2 separate regions of the Homo sapiens genome follow, and region 1 is linked to region 2. Evidence: promoter capture Hi-C in 16 types of primary human blood cells and fetal thymus (Javierre and others, 2016). All regions are on one chromosome and are shown on one strand. The core of a region is centred on a gene start or on the middle of the fragment in contact, and the rest is flanking DNA. Distances in the headings are between cores, read along the strand shown.

What was found. Contacts are between HindIII fragments. The CHiCAGO score rates a contact against its expected background, and 5 or more counts as called.
Region 1: the fragment with the promoter of MCRS1 here is called in contact with the fragment with the promoter of PRPH in region 2 in 4 of 17 cell types (endothelial precursors, M2 macrophages, erythroblasts and 1 more); the score reaches 12.1 in endothelial precursors.

What each region holds. Positions count from the first base shown.
Region 1 is chr12:49,565,957-49,570,413 of GRCh38, reverse strand. It overlaps MCRS1 (microspherule protein 1), which reads left to right and starts at 2,272. Exons shown (of 15, transcript NM_006337.5): 1 at 2,272-2,366; 2 at 3,573-3,692; 3 at 4,199-4,337. The coding sequence starts at 3,683. RefSeq lists enhancers at 1,773-1,822, 2,173-2,976. The HindIII fragment of the contact is 9,561 bases long and covers 1-4,457 here.
Region 2 is chr12:49,292,199-49,296,460 of GRCh38, reverse strand. PRPH (peripherin) reads right to left here and starts at 1,314. Exons shown (of 9, transcript NM_006262.4): 1 at 716-1,314; 2 at 223-283; 3 at 1-29. The coding sequence starts at 1,260. It overlaps TROAP-AS1 (TROAP and PRPH antisense RNA 1), which reads left to right. Exons shown (of 8, transcript NR_120449.1): 6 at 1-1,201; 7 at 1,926-2,013; 8 at 2,565-3,830. RefSeq lists enhancers at 382-1,298, 1,299-2,216, 2,296-3,058, 3,059-3,822. The HindIII fragment of the contact is 27,974 bases long and covers 1-4,262 here.

The sequences.
Region 1 (4,457 bases), core at 1,023-3,522, 270 kb before region 2:
TCCTTTCTCCTCTTTCACTCAGGAAGTTGTGGCTCAGTGCAGTGGCTTACGCCTGTAATCCAGCACTTTGGGAGGCTGAGGCGGGTGGATTATTTGAGGCCAGGAGTTCGAGACGAGCCTGGCCAACATGGCGAAACCCCGTCTCTACTAAAAATACAAAAATAAGCCAGGCAGGTGGCAGGCACCTGTAATTTCAGCTACTTGTGAGGCTGAGGCAGGACAATCACTTGAACCCAGGAGGTGGAGGTTGCAGTGAGCCGAGATTGTGCCACTGTACTCCAGCCTGGGTGACAGAGCGAGACTCTGCCTCAAAATCAATCAATCAATAAAAAGAAGTTGTGTAGAACCTATTTTTTTTTTCATTGTAAAATATGGCCGGGCGCAGTGGCTCACACCTGTAATCCCAGCACTTTGGGAGGCTGAGGTGCGTGAATCATTTGAGGTCAGGAGTTTGAGACCATCCTGGTCAACATAGTGAAACCCCATCTCTACTAAAAACACAAAAATTATCCAGGCATGGTGGCGCACACCTGCAATCCCAGCTACTCAGGAGGCTGAGGCATGAGAATCGCTTGAACCCGGGAGGTGTAGGTTGCAGGAGCCGAGATCGCTCCACTGCACTCCAGCCTGGGTGACAGAGGAAGGCTCTGTCTCAAAAAAAATAAAACAAAATTTAAAAACCATGTATTAAAAAACTGGAAAATAATTAGAGAGAAGAATTACTACTACTACCACTTGGACATGTGTTAACATTCTGGTGCATTTCCTTCAACTGTCTTTTCCTTTGTATGTTTTTAATAGTTATCATGAATTCATATATATTTAATAACATTAATATTATTAATGTTCTGTGTAATCACTTTTTATAAAAATTATTTCAGGCCGGGTGCTGTGGCTCATGCCTGTAATCCCAGCACTTTGGGAGGCCGAGGCAGCCTGATCATGAGATCAGGAGTTCAAGACCAGCCTGGCCAACATGGTGAAAACCTGTCTCTACAAAAAAAAAAAAAAAAAAACTTAGCTGGGCATGGTGGCACGTGCCTGTAATCCTAGCTACTCGGGAGGCTGAGGCAGGAGAATTGCCTGAACCGAGACCCGGGGGCCGGAGGTTGCAGTGAGCCGAGATTGTGCCACTGCACTCCAGCCTGGGCTATGGAGCGGGACTCTGTCTCAAAAAAAAAAAATTTCATTGGTTTTCTGATATTTTCACAAGTTTACATAATATATTTAATCAAGTGCCTGTTAAAAAATAAAACACACACTCTTTCATGGGAGTTAAAATAAGTACATACTCATTAAACAAGTCCACAGAACAGTAAATGAGGTTGGTACTCTCGAAGCAGAGGGCCATAGTATACCGTCAGGGCCAAAAGGGCCAGTCTCTCATTTGACACTTGAATTCCCTAGCAATGTCCATGTTATGTGTTCTTGACACCTCTGATGGACAGCTTTGGAACTGAATCTTTCTTATTCTGAGCTGAAGTATGTCTCTCTATAGCTGCTAGACTTTAGTACCTCGCAAAGGAAGCATAAAACAGAATTCCTCTTTTAGACAACAGTCTTTCTAGTTTTCCGGAACATCTCTCACAGCCCCAAATTCCCAATTTTTCCGACAGGTTCGTTCTCCCACCCCAAGATTCCTTCCAAGGCACTCTCCTCTGAAGGTGCTTCCATTGGTTTTCTCTCTTACCTCCCGGCGACCACAAGTGGCCCCAGCCGTCCAGGTGGGGTCCGGCTGACGGGACCAAGTCGACACTACTCCTTCTCGCAGGGTCTCTTCCTTCTCAGTAAAGCGGCCCACGATCCTCCATCCGCTCCTCAGAGAGCCTCTCTGCCCTTTCTGTCCGCCACATCTCCCTGGCTACATTATCTCCCCGACTAGTGCCTAGCAGGCGGGCCTGATAGAAGTTTCTCTAAAGGCTCTGGAGGAGTCAAACAATGCATAAGGTCCTGTGCAACCCTCAGACTCCTATACCTCGTGGGAATTTGGAAGTCGAAATCCAGTCCGCGGTCCCGCCCCTCCCCGGGTCGCCTCAATTAGCCCCGCTCGGTCTCGCCCTAAGTCTCGCCTTTCCCTTTAACCAACCCCTCAAGCCGGGTTACCTCTCCGGTGCCTATAATCCTTAACGTTTCCCTATATGCTGTCCCAACTAGGAAAGCCTTTACTTTCCGCTATTGGTAAAATATTTACACTTTCCGTACCATGGCCACGCCCCCTTCACACACGTTGCCAAGACGAACCGGAAGAGATTGCCAGCCCCCTGGTTCGTTAACCGGAAGTAGACGTACCTCACGGAAGCCGGCTTTGGCCCTGCGGCTGCTACCGTCGCCGCGGAGAAATTGTTGGATCTGGCAGTCTAGGAATGGTGAGACCTCGCGGTTCGCCTCTGAGGGTTCTCAGAGGAGTTGGGGATGAAATGGAGTTTTGCAGAGTGCCGCCGGGGACGACCACCCCCCAAGTTTGGGGCCCCGCCCCAGTGGCGCCCCGAAAAGCTGCGCATGCGTGGGCCGGACCGGGTTAGAATCTGGCTCGAAGTGTTACGCATGCGCAAAGGCATGGAGACCGTGGGGTGAGAATGGGCTTGCGAGTTTACCCCCACCTCCCCAGCCACCAGCCTGTGGGTCTCAAACCAAGGCTACTTGGTGCTCTGCTTTGAGTTGCAGAGGTGACTTCATCAATGCTCCTACCCCGAGTTCTTGAGACAGACCTGGACCGATCCCCTACCTTGGGTGTGCACTCTTGGGAGAACGAGGGGCGGAGGGTCCGGTAAGGAAGGGGCACAGACCCTACCTCAGTTTGCCGGCAAGCTCGGGCCCCTTCGCCCTCTCCTCAGATGTCAAGATTCTTAGTCGTAGCCTATGGAGCGGAGAGCGACAGGCTCACCTGGGGACAGGGCTAGAACACTGAGCTAAGAGCCACCCTGGTTAGAAGTGGGGACTCACGAGAGGAGCGCCCCGAGAAAGTCCAGTACCTGGGTTCTCTAGGGGTTGTTGGGGCACAGCGTGGTTGATAATCACGCAGTTCCCAAACAGTGGTTTTTGGTTTCCACGAGATGGTATCTCATGGAAATACCACTTACTAAATCTTCAGTAAAAACCCCAAATGGAAAAGAAAAACAAAAAAAAAACGAGATGGACTGGTTGGAGTTTTGTCTCCCTTTCTTTTTTCCTGCTTTGGCCTGGGAGGGGAAGGCTGGTGCTGCTGAGCTGAGTGGACAGCTGAAGTAAAGAAAAATGTGGGCCAAAGAATCCCTTGTCTCTTGCTAGTTTATAGTCAAGGCGCTTAACCTAGGAGATACCAGTAGAATTAAAGGGTCTATGAACCCTCTAAAATAGTATGTGTTTGCACCCTTTTCTGCAGTCCATAGCTGTTATCATACTCTGAAAGGTGCCAGTGACCTTCACAAGACTGATGTCTAAGGCTATTATTGGCAGAGTGGGGCCTTATGCCTCTTTCCTGTCCTTATGTCTTCCCTAGCTTATGGGACCCTGGGGGACCTGAGCCAGTATAAGGAAGTGAGGCTGGCCAGTTGGAAATCTGAGCCTCAGGGAGCCTCATTTCTCCTTTGCAGAATCTCCTCTCAGCCTTTAAGCTCACCTGGTCAGAATCCTTGGATGAGCCTGTGGGACCGTTCCTCCTAGCCCGGTGGTTTGGAACCAGTGGCTTTGGGACTGTAAGAGGATGGACAAAGGTAGTATGAGGCCGGGACAGCTCCCCAAATGCTCGGGCGCCAAGCATCTGCTGATTCCACTCTGTGCCTGGCACGTGTGTCTTTCGGTCCTGGCTAGGCCTTGCCACCTCCCCCTGGGCCAGCACCACCCATGTACCTGTCGGCAGAGCCACAGTTGACTGACTTGCTGTTGAGCTGCTGCTCTTTAGCACGGCTGCATTTTGATGGCAGAGGGAGCAGTTATGCCCAGAGCCCAGCGTGTCGGCATCACCAGTCTGACCTGAGCACCATGTGCTGCACGACATGACACGTGGCACCGGGGGAACTGCCCAGCGTGGAAGGTCTGGGCCAGGTCTGAGCCCAGATGGGATCTGGATGGCCAAGGAACTCTACCTTAAAACCTCAAGTGTCAAGGAGGCAGGGGAGGGGCCAAGAGGGCTGGCAGGGGAAGGGGGCTGGGGAGGGGTCCCATTTGCAGAGGCTCTAGGATCTTAGGAGGCCCGAATCCACCATTTCTCTCTTGCTAGATTCTCAGGGGCTGCTAGATTCATCCCTGATGGCATCAGGCACTGCCAGCCGCTCAGAGGATGAGGAGTCACTGGCAGGGCAGAAGCGAGCCTCCTCCCAGGCCTTGGGCACCATCCCTAAACGGAGAAGCTCCTCCAGGTAGTAAGGGTTCGGAGGGCCAGGAACTGGGAAAGGGTAGAAGGTCTGTGGCGTTAAGTGCCACATGCCTCCCCATCTGTTGGGAATGGCTGCCTGAGCCCCTCTGGGGCCTTAGTATTG
Region 2 (4,262 bases), core at 65-2,564:
AGGCGGGACAGAGTGGCATCGTCCACGTCCTTCGAGGGGTGGCAGTGGAGGTTCAAGATAAGTTAGGGGCTGCGCAGACCAAGGAAGGACCAGGCCTTCCCTGTCTGCCTCAGGAGGCATCTGGGTTACCCCCTTCTCCCCGCGCCCACCGATGCCACCTCTGGATACTGAGATCGGGGGTAGCGGTGGGGAGGCTGAACTCGGAGAGGGGCTCGGACTCACCTTGCGGAAGAGCACGAGGTTGTGCTCCGCGTCCTCCCGCTTGCGCGTCTCCTCCTCCAACCTGACGGGAAGAGCGTGCAGAGGCTGAACTGCGGGGTCGCCGCCCAGCTCGCACCCCAGACCGCACGCCCCCCAGGATCCGGTTAGAGGCTGTTCTGCTGCCCAGGACTCTAAATGGAGGGCTGAGGCTGTCTAATGGAATTGCCCCGCATTGTCTCTAACGGACTGGGAGCTGAAAAGGGGGTTTCCTCATTACTCAGGGGAGGCACAGATACCCACTTCTCCCACCTCCCCAAACACTCAGAGCAAAGGGGTAGCGGGGGGCACTTGGAGCCCGTGGGCAGGGATGCTGCCCGCACACACCTGGGTTGGTAAGGGGAGCCACACCCTTGGGCTGCTGATGGAGAGGGGAAGCGAGGGGAGGCAAGAGCAGCCGCCTCGACGGCCGCTTCGACCTCGCCTCGACGGCAGCGGCCCAGCCCTGCCCCCTGACCTCTGCTTGAGCGCCGCCAGGTCCTCCGCCAGCCCGTCGCGCTCCACCTGCACCCGGTCACGCTCGCGGCCCAACAGCTCCAGCTCTCGCCGCAGCTCGCGCAGCTCCTGCTGGCACAGCTGGTCGGCGCGCGCCGGCTCCTGGCCCCGGGCTTGGCTCAGCTCCCCGCGCAGGGCCGCGTTCTGCTGCTCCAGAAAGCGTACCTTCTCGATGAAGTTGGCGAAGCGGTCGTTGAGCTCCTGCAGCTCCTGCTTCTCGTTGCTGCGCGTGGCCAGGAACTCCTGGTTGAGGGCCTCGGCCATGGAGAAGTCGAGGCGCTCCGAGGGCAGGCGCAGGAGGGCGCCCGCTCCCGCTCGGGGGCTACGGAAGCTGCCCAGGCGCACCGAGGAGCTCGGGGACGCGGAGCCCAGCAGGCGGCTGCTGGAGAAGCGGGAGCTGGACGAGTAGGAGAAGGCCCCGGGGGATAGTGAGGGCGGTGGACCGAAGGTACGGCGGTATGAGGTGGAGCTGAAGCCGGCCCGGAGGCCCGACGGGTGGTGGCTCATTGCGGCCAAGGATGGGCAGTCACCGTTCGCAGAGCTAGGCCGGGGGCTGGGAAGGAGCCGCAGACCGCTGCGAGGCGGCTTTATAGCCCTGCGGTCTCAGGGGGGGCACGGGCAGCTCCTCCCACTGGCCTGATGGCCCGCTGGAGGGGGGTTGTATGGGGAGGGGGATGCCCCACCCCTGCGGAACAGCAGGAGCGCCTTCCCCTCCCTTCCCTGGTTGCAGGCCTCTACCCACTTGATTGCCCCCTGTTGCCGCTGGGGTGGGGGTCACTTCCTCCCAACAAGCACCCAAAGCTAGAACCTAGGGTAGGAAGGCCTGACTTGAACTAGAGTCCCTGAAAATTGCGAGGTAGAAGGACCTGAAGTTAAAGGGCAGGCTTCTGGCACAGGAGTAGGGAGGAGGCCAGCTGGAGGGAGAGTTGACCTGGCTTAGGCCCCATAGCTAGTGCCTTGACTTGCCCCCTGAAGGCCAGGCTCTATTTTCACCTGCTGTCAGCTACCCCTCCTTCACCACACCCAGAGAGGAATAGGAGACAGGGGCGCAGAGGCAGATCGGGCTGGGGAAGAGCTACTCTCCCTAATCCCCAGGGCCCTGTGAAGGGCTGGTGCCTGGCGCCAGCTCTGCTGCTAATGGGCTGACCAGCCCCCCTCCCCCTCCCCTGAAGACGGCCCAGCAGAGGTTGTCTGCTGATGTTTCAGCCTTAAAGACACAGCCCCCAAACCTAGACCTACCCCGCAACAAGCCCCAATGAGGTGGGTACATCATAGGGGGCTGAGGGTGGCTGGACCCAGCTCTGGATCCCACTCGGGAGGGTCTGCCCCATGCCACGGGCTGGGCTAAGTGGGCCTTTTGTATTCTGTCTTGGTTTACTGGATTCTCCCTCCCCCCAACCCCACACCAATTGCTGCTCAGTCATGGGCTTTACAGGAACCAGAGTGATTCCTGAGGTAGGAAGGGGAGGGGGCTGAGGGGCAACAGCGGCTGCCAAGGCTGAGAGATGGATGGACTGGCAGGAGCTGGTTTCCAGTATTGATGAGTTGCAGGTACCAGGGATGGGTGGGGCTGGATGGGGAAGAGATGGGGAAAGAGAAAGTGCCCATCCCCAGCAGTCTGAAAGAGAGAAGGCCCCAGAACAGGTCCACAAACCTGCGCACGCAAACAGATGCATACACACAGCTTTGTATATCTATGCGCACACACACTACATACACACACATACACACACAATCACACATCCCACCACACCCTCCCCTACTCCAGAGTTAGCGAGAAGGCTGATATCTGGCCTTTGTATGTCAAACAGCTTCCAGAATGCAAGCACAACCTGCCCAGGAGTGGACAGAGGCAGCTCGGATGGTCTGCAGGAGCCGGGTTGCTGAGGTCTGCTGGGTTTGCCAGGAACCATAGGGCTGGGGCTGCTGCTGCTGCTGGGGACTCCAGCGCTGTCCTGTGAGACAGGTCTGCCTCAGATGGGACCTGAGGACAAGAGAGTGCATCTGGGGAAGCAGGTTTCAGGTTCCTGCCTGGATATCTGGCTGGGGGTAAGGAGGGCGGCTCCCTGGCTGGCCAGCTCCTCAGTATTGCAGGGCAGCAGCCCCCTCCCCCCTTTGTGCGTCCTGTGAGATGGGCCAGGGCCAACGCCCTGCTCACGTCCCTACCGCCTTCGTCTCCTTTCCAGGCCCCTCCTTCCTTCCGGGCCATTAGTCTCTCCCTGCACAGCTGCCAGTTCCTTCTCCTTGATGGGTCTGGTTTGGTTGCCAGGGGAGTGGGAAGCGGGAGGAAGGGAGAGATGGGACAGGACGAATAAATGACAGCTTGGCCTCCCCTAACTCCTGGGAATTGGGAGGGGTAGGGTCCCACCCGGGATAGGGCCGGGAGGCTTGGTGGGTGTGAGGAGGGGCTAGGGAAGCCTTGGTGCTTCCTGCCGCAGTCCTGGGCACTGAGCCCCAGCTGCTGTTGGCCTGGAGCCCCATCTATCCCGGATTTGGCCCCACCCTCCAGGAGCAGGGAGCCAGCTCTGCATCAGGAGAGGCGGGCAAGGCCTGGGGAGGACCAGCTCAGGCCCTGTCTACAGGGCACTAGTGGGGGACCCAAGCCTCTGAGAGTAGAGGCTGCTGGGGCTGCAGCTGGGCCTGGGGAGTTCCAGATGGAGTTCCCGTCCTCACCCTGCTTAAGGGCTCCGCTGGCCACCTACATGCCTCGGAGGAGAAGGGACAGAGGGCTGCCACAGCAGGGCTCTGGAGCTGTGGATCAGGCCTGGGTGGGGAACTGCCAGGCAGAAGAGGCTCCTCCCCTAAAGCAGAAGGAGCAGGCCAGCAACTCCAGGCGGAGCAAAGGTAGGCAAAGAGTCTGGGTTAAGAGCCGGGCTCTGGCATCCAGCTGCCACACTTCCCATCTGATCCACCACTCTGTTGTAGAATTTAGGCTCGTCACTACGTCCCTTCATGTCCCTCAAGAAAAGGGAGATAACTAACTGTAGCTTCTACCTCATAGTGTTGTTGGGAGGACTAAAGGAATAAATAAATACATGTGAAGTGCTTAGGACACACATCTTAAAGCCTGAAAATGGAAGCTGGTTTTATTATTGCTATTATTATTAACCTCCAGAGTGATAATGTCAGCCCCAAGAGCAGTGAGAGTCTGGGCTTCTTTTGGACTGTGCCCCTGGTTGCTGAAAGTAGTGCTTGGACCCAAGGCGGAAGAAGCCAAGTCCTCCCTGGCCTCATCCTCCCCTGGTGGACCGGGACTCTGGGCAGATGGTGCAGGTTCATTCATGGCTGCTCACCTTAATTAGCTGTGTGCTTTGGGTTTTCTGAGTGACTTAACCTCTGTTCACCCCATTTTCTTTCTTTCTTTCTTTCTCTCTTTCTTTCTTTTTTCTTCCTTTTTTTTTTTTTGAGACATAGTCTCGCTCTGTCGCCCAGGCTGGAGTGCAGTGGCACGATCTCAGCTCACTGCAAGCTCCGCCTCCCGGGTTCACGCCATTCTCCTGCCTCAGCCT